3 separate regions of the Homo sapiens genome follow, and all the other regions are linked to region 3. Evidence: promoter capture Hi-C in human tissues and cell types (Jung and others, 2019). All regions are on one chromosome and are shown on one strand. The core of a region is centred on a gene start or on the middle of the fragment in contact, and the rest is flanking DNA. Distances in the headings are between cores, read along the strand shown. Region 1 overlaps ABL2 (ABL proto-oncogene 2, non-receptor tyrosine kinase). Region 2 overlaps ABL2 (ABL proto-oncogene 2, non-receptor tyrosine kinase). Region 3 holds the start of SOAT1 (sterol O-acyltransferase 1).

Region 1 (2,773 bases), core at 167-2,666, 110 kb before region 3:
GCCCTCTTGAAAGAGGACTCTTGGCCTGAGTCTTAAAGGAAACTCAAGAGTTAGCCACTGAATAAAAGCAAGTTAGCATGTAAAATAGTACAACTGTGATATATATTAATACTATATTCTTTCATTCAAGAAATATGTCTTGGCTGGGCATAGTGGCTCATGCTTGTAATCCCAGGACTTTGGAAGGGCGAGGCAGGGGGATGACTTGAGGTCAGGGGTTCAAGACCAGCCTGCACAACATGGCGAAACCCTGTCTCTACTAAAAATACAAAAAAAAAAAAAAATTAGCCAGGTGTTGGTGGCACACGCCTGTCATCCAAGCTACCTGGGAGGCTGAGGTGGGAGGATCACTTGAGCCTAGGGAGGTTGAGGCTGCAGTGAGCCATGCACTCCAGCCTGGGTACTGCACTCCAGCCTGGGTGACAGAGTGAGACCCTGTCTTAAAAAAACAAAAAAAAAAAGGGGGGAAATACTTCTGGACCACCTACTGTATGCCAAGGACAGGCTATATTTACAGGCCCACCTGTACTTTAGTATGGCTACAGCCTCAGGAGCATGTATGAGATTGGGAATGCACCAAATTATGAAAGCTTTGGATGCTCTGTTAAGGAGTTGGGACCTCACTCTGAAGATGGTAAGAAATCAATAAAAGCTGGTAAGCAAGGAAGCAATAAGATCAGAGTTGTATATACCCTGACTCAGGCTTTCTTATACGTTCCCTCTGAGGAGCTGCCACGAAGGTTCTAGAGGAGAGGAAGGAGCTGATATGTCCCATGTTTCACAGATACTGAATGAGACTCTGCTGCTAAGGCCTACCACCTCTCTACCCCCATGTTCTATCATCAGACTTCACTAGTGGAATAAAAAGGTCCAGTACCAGTAGCAGGTAGGAAACAGAAAAGTAACAGAGAAGAAAGAGAGTTCCCGTGGCCAAGGTGCATAAGGGTCACCTCCAGGGAACTATTCATATTTTAAACAGAACATTATACCAACAAAATAATAGAGGATATTAAAACATCTGATAACAAAGTAAATTTTATGTTGTGTTTATTTTATCACAATTTAAAATAATTTTTAAAAGAAAAAAACCATCTGAAATTTAGGTGAAACATTTTTCTATTCTGTCATTTAAAATGATAAAGATCAGTTCAGAGTATACTTAATAATAATTCCCCCATTCTTCCTTCACATTTAAAGAATTCTTCCAAGTCCGCCCCCTACCACAAAGCTAAATGTGCAAAAATGCAAAAAGCGTGATAATTATTTCATTGGGGGAAAGAAGAGAATCATATCCCAAATGGACAACATCCAATAACCAACTATCCTTTAGACTTGCAATGGTGCAAACTGCCACCAAAAAGAACACACATGGATTTGGACACATTCTAACAGTACAGCTGTCTGTCCAGGCATGCTGCTGAAAGAACAGTACATTCCTTCTTGTTCCATCTTCCACCCACCTTAAGCCCCATTATGAAACGGAGTTTAAACAAAACTATCATATTTAAGCCTCTAATATATGTGTGTTTTCAATAAGATCAGCTAGGTAAAAATAGTGGCAGTAAACCCCTCCAACATTGCCCTAAGATTAGAGTCTGAAGATTTCTGAAGAGGAAAATAATTTTGGTAATGTATATTTGTCAAAAGTTTCAACTTGAGATTGCAATCTAGGTGCAAAGATAGGGAAATAAGTTACTAACTTTCAGAAAACTGATATAGTATGGTAGAGGAGTGAGTATTGAGAATCAGAGTAATGGGATCTGAGTCCTAAATAACTAGCCTATCAGCAGCTTTGTGACCTTGGGAAAACTGCCCAACCTCGCTGAGCTTCAGTTTTCTCATTTATGAAACATGCTTAATGATGCTTACACTATCTATATCATGGTGCTGCTGTGAAAAGCAAAGAGCTAAATGTAACCCTAACTCAGCACACTCTAATGCACCCTGTCAATAATCTCAATTTCATGCAACTCTTTTTGAATACCATGTTTTATATTTCCAGCTCATTCTTTCTAATACACGAATTCATATAATCTTGTGACCCCACCAGATCTCCCATCTACTGACCGCTATCTTTGAACTATCTTTTTTTAATTTTTATTTTATTTTATTTTTATTTTTGAGACAGAGTCTCACTCTATTGCCCCGGCTGGAATGCAATGGCATGATCTCGGCTCACTGCAACTTCTGCCTCCCAGGTTCAAGCAATTATCCTGCCTCAACCTCCTGAGTAGCCGGGACTATAGTCACGTGTCACCAGGCCCGGCTATTTTTTTTTTTTTTTTTTTTTTTGTATTTTTAGTAGAGACAGGGTTTCACCATGTTGGCCAGGATGGTCTTGATCTCCTGACCTCATGACCCGCCTGCCTCAGCCTCCCAAAGTGCTGGGAATTACAGGCGTGAGCCACCGCACCCAGCCTATCTTCAAACTATCTTTTCACTGTTTCTCACCCTGTGAAGTCCTCTCTTCCCTCCTTACCAGCTTAAGTTCCATGGTCCATCATTATAATCACTTGCTCCTCTCTCACTTGGACATACTCACTTTGCAGAACCACAAGCTGGGTAAATTCAACTATTCTCCTACTCCTAAAGTGAAGGTGGCTGGAGAAAAAAAAGCACAAAACCAAGCTGACTGGCCTCACTTTTAACTCAGAACCTTTAGCCTCAAATGAGCCCTTAACACTGCCTGGTGATCATACTGTATTTCTCTAGTCCATTCACTTTCCCACTTTCTAGACAATTATATGCTCTCCTCTCTTTTCAAACTCCTAAT
Region 2 (2,764 bases), core at 230-2,729, 73 kb before region 3:
ATATTTACCTCGTCCAGAAGACATCTGTTAACATGGAAAAGGTTCTTAAGTATTTTGAAATCTCTGTATGTGCAGTGCCACATTAAGAAAAAGCCCATCTGACTCACAACTTCAAGAAGATAATCACACTAAACAAGTTTTCTTTTTGAGACAGGGTCTCATTCTGTCGCCCAGAATGGAGTGCAGCGACGTGATTATGGCTCACTGCAGCCTCAACCTCCTGGCCTCAAGTGATCCTCTCACCTTAGCCTCCCCAGTAGCTGGGACTACATGTGTGCACTAGCACGCCTGGCTAGGTTTTCTATTTTTTGTAGAGACAGGGTTTCGCCACGTTGCCTAGGCTGGTCTTGAACTCCTGAGCTTAAAGCAATCCACCTGCTTCGGCCTCCCAAAGTGCTGGGATTACAGACGTGAGCTACCATGCCTGGCCTAAACAAGCCTTTAAGAAGAAACTTTACATCCAGAGGTAAAAATAACACAGAGAAGAAGAAAAAAAAAGGTCTTAAAGGATGTCAGATGAAGAAGGTTACAACAAAGTCATTTAAAAAAGTCATTAACTATTAACCAGCAAACAAATGGGCCAACTTAGAATGAAGTCTCTATCAACTTTAAATTTGCATTGGCCAGTGTTTCTGGTTCAAGTTCTTTGATGGAAGAAAAAGATGTCTACAAGAACCAGGCACTACATATACTGATACCCAGTCCCTAAGACAAAGACAAATGGTCTAGAGAGGATATCACTTACCTTACAAGGAAGGTAGACCTAAAGTGATTTCAGATTCTCCTGTGATTTCAGATCCCCAAAATTCCCTTACCTTTTACTGCTTTCTGAAAGTCCTCTAATAAGAGTAGCTTAATAAGAAGAGAAAATGAAGTAATAAATATAAATGCTAAGGCAATTCTACACTTTGGCATGCCATCACAATGATAACAATAGCAGTGCTTAGGTTTACAAAACATTTTCACATACAACTCATATAATCTTCACAATCATCTTGAGGTAAATAATGACAATAAAACTGATATTTATTGAGCACCACAGTGCCTGGCACTTAAGAGTCTCGTACAATTTTATCACTTAATTATTTCAACAACCTGTTGTGAGGGATAAACCATGTACCAATGTCAGACACAAAGCAAGATTTATATCCAATTATAACTGATTTTAAAACCCACATTCTCTAAATCTCCACATTATGGCAAGACTTGGAGACAAAACTATCAGTCCCAGCTCTATCATTTAACAGCTATGTAACCTCAAGAAGTCACTTAATTTTCTAAACTCTTCATCTACAAAATGGGAAGATTAATACCTGCTTCACCTATTTCAGAGTAGTTGTAAAGGTCAAGTGAGATGAAAGACATAAAAGGTCTTCTTCAAAAGCTCTAAAAACTACACAAACATTATCATTCCCTATTTTGAAAGAGACTGAAGTAAAGAGGAATAAAAACATACAATGGTGGGGAGATGCTGGTTTTTCTTGTTTGGTTTTTGTTTTCCGTTTAAAGCAGGTTGAGCACCAGCTGCCTGCCACTTGTGAGCTGGGTATGTGCCGCACAGGACAGTGCCTTGTTTAGGCGATGGTCACTTTGTCAGGAAAATCTACCAAGGAAGAAATTACCAAACCATGTCTTTTTTTCTGTTTATGGAGTAGTTCACAGCAAATCTTGAGTGTTTTGACTAAAGCATGGAATACAGAAAACAAACTTCAGCTAGTGCTTTAATCTCTGCTGAAATTCTACAGGTATGTGTTTTATAAGCAGTATATGGCAGGATTTTAAGCCAGTCTGAAAGTCTGGTTTTCAGTAGCATTATTTCTGACAGCTACATACTGCTGAATGTTCAACTGGTGAAACTGAAGGTCTTTTCACTCAGAAGAAATCAATCAAGAAGAACTTGCAGTTCGCAAGCTTCTGAGCTGCTGTGGATGGCCCTGGCTCTCCAGACTGCCCTTCCCACTGAGATCTCTCACATGGGGTCTCCTGCTGCTGCCACTCCTGACTCTCCTCCTGATGTGGTACCTCTCAGCCTTCCCCACTACAATGTGACAGAATATGTAGACTGGATGTACTTTTACAAGTATGAGCCAATTTACAGATGAGGCTTTCACTTCACATTTTGAGAGCATTCAAACTGCTCTGATCAAAATCCAATTCTGGTTATCCTAGTGACCTCCCACCCCTCAGATGTGAAAGCCAGACAGGCCATTAGAGTTACTTGGGGTGAAAAAAGTCTTGATGGCGATATGAGGTTCTCACATTTTTCTTAGTAGGCCAACGGGCTAAAAGAGAAGACAAACTGTTAGCACTGTCCTCGGACGATTAACATCTTCTTTATAGTGATGTAATCCAACGAGATTTTTTAGACACATACAAAAACCTGACCTTGAAAACTGGCCAGGCACAGTGGCTCACATTTGTAGTCCCAGCACGTTGGGAGGTCAAGGCAGGTGAATTACTTGAGGCCAGGAGTTTGAGACCAGCCAGGCCAATATGGTGAAAACCCATCTGTACTGAAAATACAAAAATTAGCCAGGCATGGTGACGTGTGCCTGTAATCCCAGCTACTTGGGAGGCTGAGGCACAAGAATTGCTTGAGCCCAGGAGGTGGAGGCTGCAGTGAGCCAAGATCGCACCACTGCACTCCAGCCTGGGTGACAGAGCAAGACTCCGTCTCAAACAAACAACAAAAACAACCTATTATGGCATTCAGGTGGGTAACTGAGTTTTGCCCCATTGCCAACTACATCATGACAACAGACAC
Region 3 (2,766 bases), core at 157-2,656:
TACCAGACCCTGTCACCAACTAGTCAGCACACGTGGCAATCACAGTTGTAGAAGAGGCCAAACGGAGCAGATCTGCCAATGACAGCCAGTACTAAACTCGACTGGATGCTGAGGGCCATTTCTGCTTTGAGTGAACAGTGCAGCCTGCTGGGTGGCCAAGGGAACGTGTACAAATCCACTTTGTTTAAAGGACCCAGAGAGTAGTCAGTTCTGCTAAACCTCATCTGTTTGTTCAGGGATTTTTGTCCTGGGGAGGAGTGGGGAAGAAGCGATTAGTCAGGCCAGGCTAGCTGGTATTAGTTTGCAGGCTGTGAGTGCGACTCTTCAGTCTCTGCTCCTCTCATCATTGCCTTTTCACCTACCTTTACCCTAAATTTACGTACACCTCTGCCTTCACAAATTCCAAGCGATTAACTGTTGTATTTAATCTCTGTCCCAAATCTCTCTGCATCATTCTTCTTTTGATTATGAAGTCACGAGGGCCCTTTGTTTATTTTATTTTTAAAACTTTTTTTGAGAAGGAGTTTAGCTCTTATTGCCCAGGCTGGAGTGCAATGGCACAATCTAGGCTCACTGCAACCTCTGGCTTCCGGGTTCAAGCAATCCTCCTGCCTCAGCCTCCCGAATAGCTGGGATTACAGGCGCGCGCCACCAAGCCCGGCTAATTTTTTGTATTTAGTAGAGACGGGGTTTCACCATGTTGGTCAGGCTGGTCTCGATCCTAACCTCAGGTGACCCAGCCACCTCGGTCTCCCAAAGTGTTGGGATTACAGGCGTGAGCCACCGCACCTGGCCTCAAGGGCCCTTAAATATTACTTAGTTGTTCCATTATTTGGTGTGTTTTATTATTTGGTGCAGGTTTTTTCCCCTTATCTAGTTTGAATGTTGCTGAAGGACGCTGGTTTTCAAACGGTAAGGAATCTCCTGATAAAGGCACGAATCTTGGTGTGCAGATAAGCCAGCGATTCTTGCTTCTGGCTAGTTCTACGTTGTTCCTGGATGGTCAGTTCAAACTGCAATGATCCACAGCTCCAGAAGCGGCTTCTTCCAGTCGGCCTAGGAGCCAAACGCCCCTGCAGCTCCATGCTACCACGCAGGGTGCCGTTTCGGGCTTGCAGGGAGTTGTCGCAGTCCCGTTTTGGCTGCACATTCTACTGCTGGGGTGGAAGTGTCAAGCAAGATGTTGTCGCCGGTATCATGATGTCCGGGTGAGAAGCTTCCTTGGCAGGTTGCCAGGGCCAGCCTGCGAGCACTGGCGCCGGGGACCCGCGCGCCCGGGAAGGGGCGGGGAGGTGGGCGGAGCCTGGCAACCTGGGGACCACCAATAGGATGCTCAGCCGGAGGTGGCCCTGCGCGTGACGCAGCGGTGCTCGGAGGCAGGGGGCGTAGGGGCCGGGCTGTCCGGCGCTTTAGCTTAGCAGGCGACGTTGCGGGCCCTGGGCGCCAGGAGAGCTTCCCGGAGTCGACCTTCCTGCTGGCTGCTCTGTGACCGCTTCCCGGCTCTGCCCTCTTGGCCGAAGTGCCCGCTGCCGGGCGCGGGCCTCAGGTAACGGTGGTGCTCCCGCGCCTCTCCTCGCTTCCCGCTTGGGTCCACCGGCCTCAGCCCGCGGGGAAGGGAGAAGCGGTGGCGGCAGCAGCTCCGGCCCGGCCTTGTCCTGGGCTGTGCTGCGGAGAAGGCGAGGCTCGGCGACTGCAGGGGAGTTGGGGAGGGGAGGGCGGGAAAGTTACCGTCAGGCGCCCGGGTCACGGGCAGCCTTTTAAACCCTGCACGCTGGTTTGGTGTTCCGCAAATCTCGTGGCATCTCTCAAGTCAGTAGTAAAGAAAGTTAGGAATTAGAAGACGTTTTATTCTTTAAAAAGCGAAACCAAAAATGCACTCAGGAAGTCAGCTTTTTAATGATTTAGAGAAAATGTGTGAAGGGAAGGATGGTATTAGCAAGACATGAAAATCTGTAGGGGCACCAGAACCTTTAATCAAGCTCATGTTTTATTGTAAAATATTAGGATGTAGGTAAGTTTCTGTTTTCCCTAAGTGTTAATGGTCATGTAATTTAAATAATATGTATATTGAAAGGTTATTTCTAAGTGAGAAACAACTATATAAACTTTATTCTCCGTATATATATTTAGGTTAAGTTCGTTGGTCACTTTTGTTTGTTTGAGACGGAGTCTCGCTGTGTCGCAAGGCTGGAGTGCAGTGGCGCAATCTCGGCTCACTGCAACCTCTGCCTCCCGGGTTCAAGCGATTCTTGTGCCTCAGCCTCCTGAGTAGCTGGGATTACAGGCGTGCGCCACCACGCCCAGGTAATTTTTGTAGTTTTAGTAGAGACGGGGTTTCACCATGTTGGACCAGGTTGGTCTCAAACTCCTGACCTCAAGTGATCCGCCCGCTTCGGCCTCCCAAAGTGCTGGGATTACAGGCGTGAGCCACCGCGCCTGGCCTGTTGGTCACTTTTTAATATTTAAGTGGCTGCCACCTGTTTAAACCACTTTTTTCTTTTTTTCAGCCTGCTTGATTTCCTCTTCCTTGAAGTAGAATTCAATTTGAAGCTTTTTTTTTTTCTTTTTAAAAGTTGGGCGGTGTCAGTGAATGACTTGTTAAGGAAGTCTGTGCGTTGTCTGGGTGTGAGAATGGGTTTTGGAAGGAGCTCTGTGGCACTGAATTATCGTTTAGAAATGCACGTGTTTTAGTGAATCACATGCTTAGAATGCATCTGAGGTTTCGCAGTCTTTTAGGATAAAGACCTACTGAGTGAGCACACTCTA

The links. Contacts are between HindIII fragments. The study calls those that stand out against the background at their distance.
Region 1: a contact is called between a fragment that was not itself captured here and the fragment with the promoter of SOAT1 in region 3, in 6 of the 25 tissues and cell types used here (H1 embryonic stem cells, IMR-90 fibroblasts, aorta and 3 more).
Region 2: a contact is called between a fragment that was not itself captured here and the fragment with the promoter of SOAT1 in region 3, in 2 of the 25 tissues and cell types used here (adrenal gland and aorta).

What each region holds. Positions count from the first base shown.
Region 1 is chr1:179,179,678-179,182,450 of GRCh38, forward strand. The region is part of intron 1 of ABL2 (ABL proto-oncogene 2, non-receptor tyrosine kinase); the gene reads right to left. Among named protein-coding and RNA genes, the nearest start is that of ABL2, 49 kb to the right of the region's middle. The HindIII fragment of the contact is 8,582 bases long and covers 1-2,773 here.
Region 2 is chr1:179,218,914-179,221,677 of GRCh38, forward strand. All of the region lies in intron 1 of ABL2 (ABL proto-oncogene 2, non-receptor tyrosine kinase), which reads right to left. It also overlaps the pseudogene LOC100499223. Among named protein-coding and RNA genes, the nearest start is that of ABL2, 9.4 kb to the right of the region's middle. The HindIII fragment of the contact is 5,519 bases long and covers 1-2,764 here.
Region 3 is chr1:179,292,391-179,295,156 of GRCh38, forward strand. It overlaps SOAT1 (sterol O-acyltransferase 1), which reads left to right and starts at 1,407. Exons shown (of 16, transcript NM_003101.6): 1 at 1,407-1,546. RefSeq lists a silencer at 1,202-1,391 and an enhancer at 1,604-2,111. The HindIII fragment of the contact is 6,238 bases long and covers 317-2,766 here.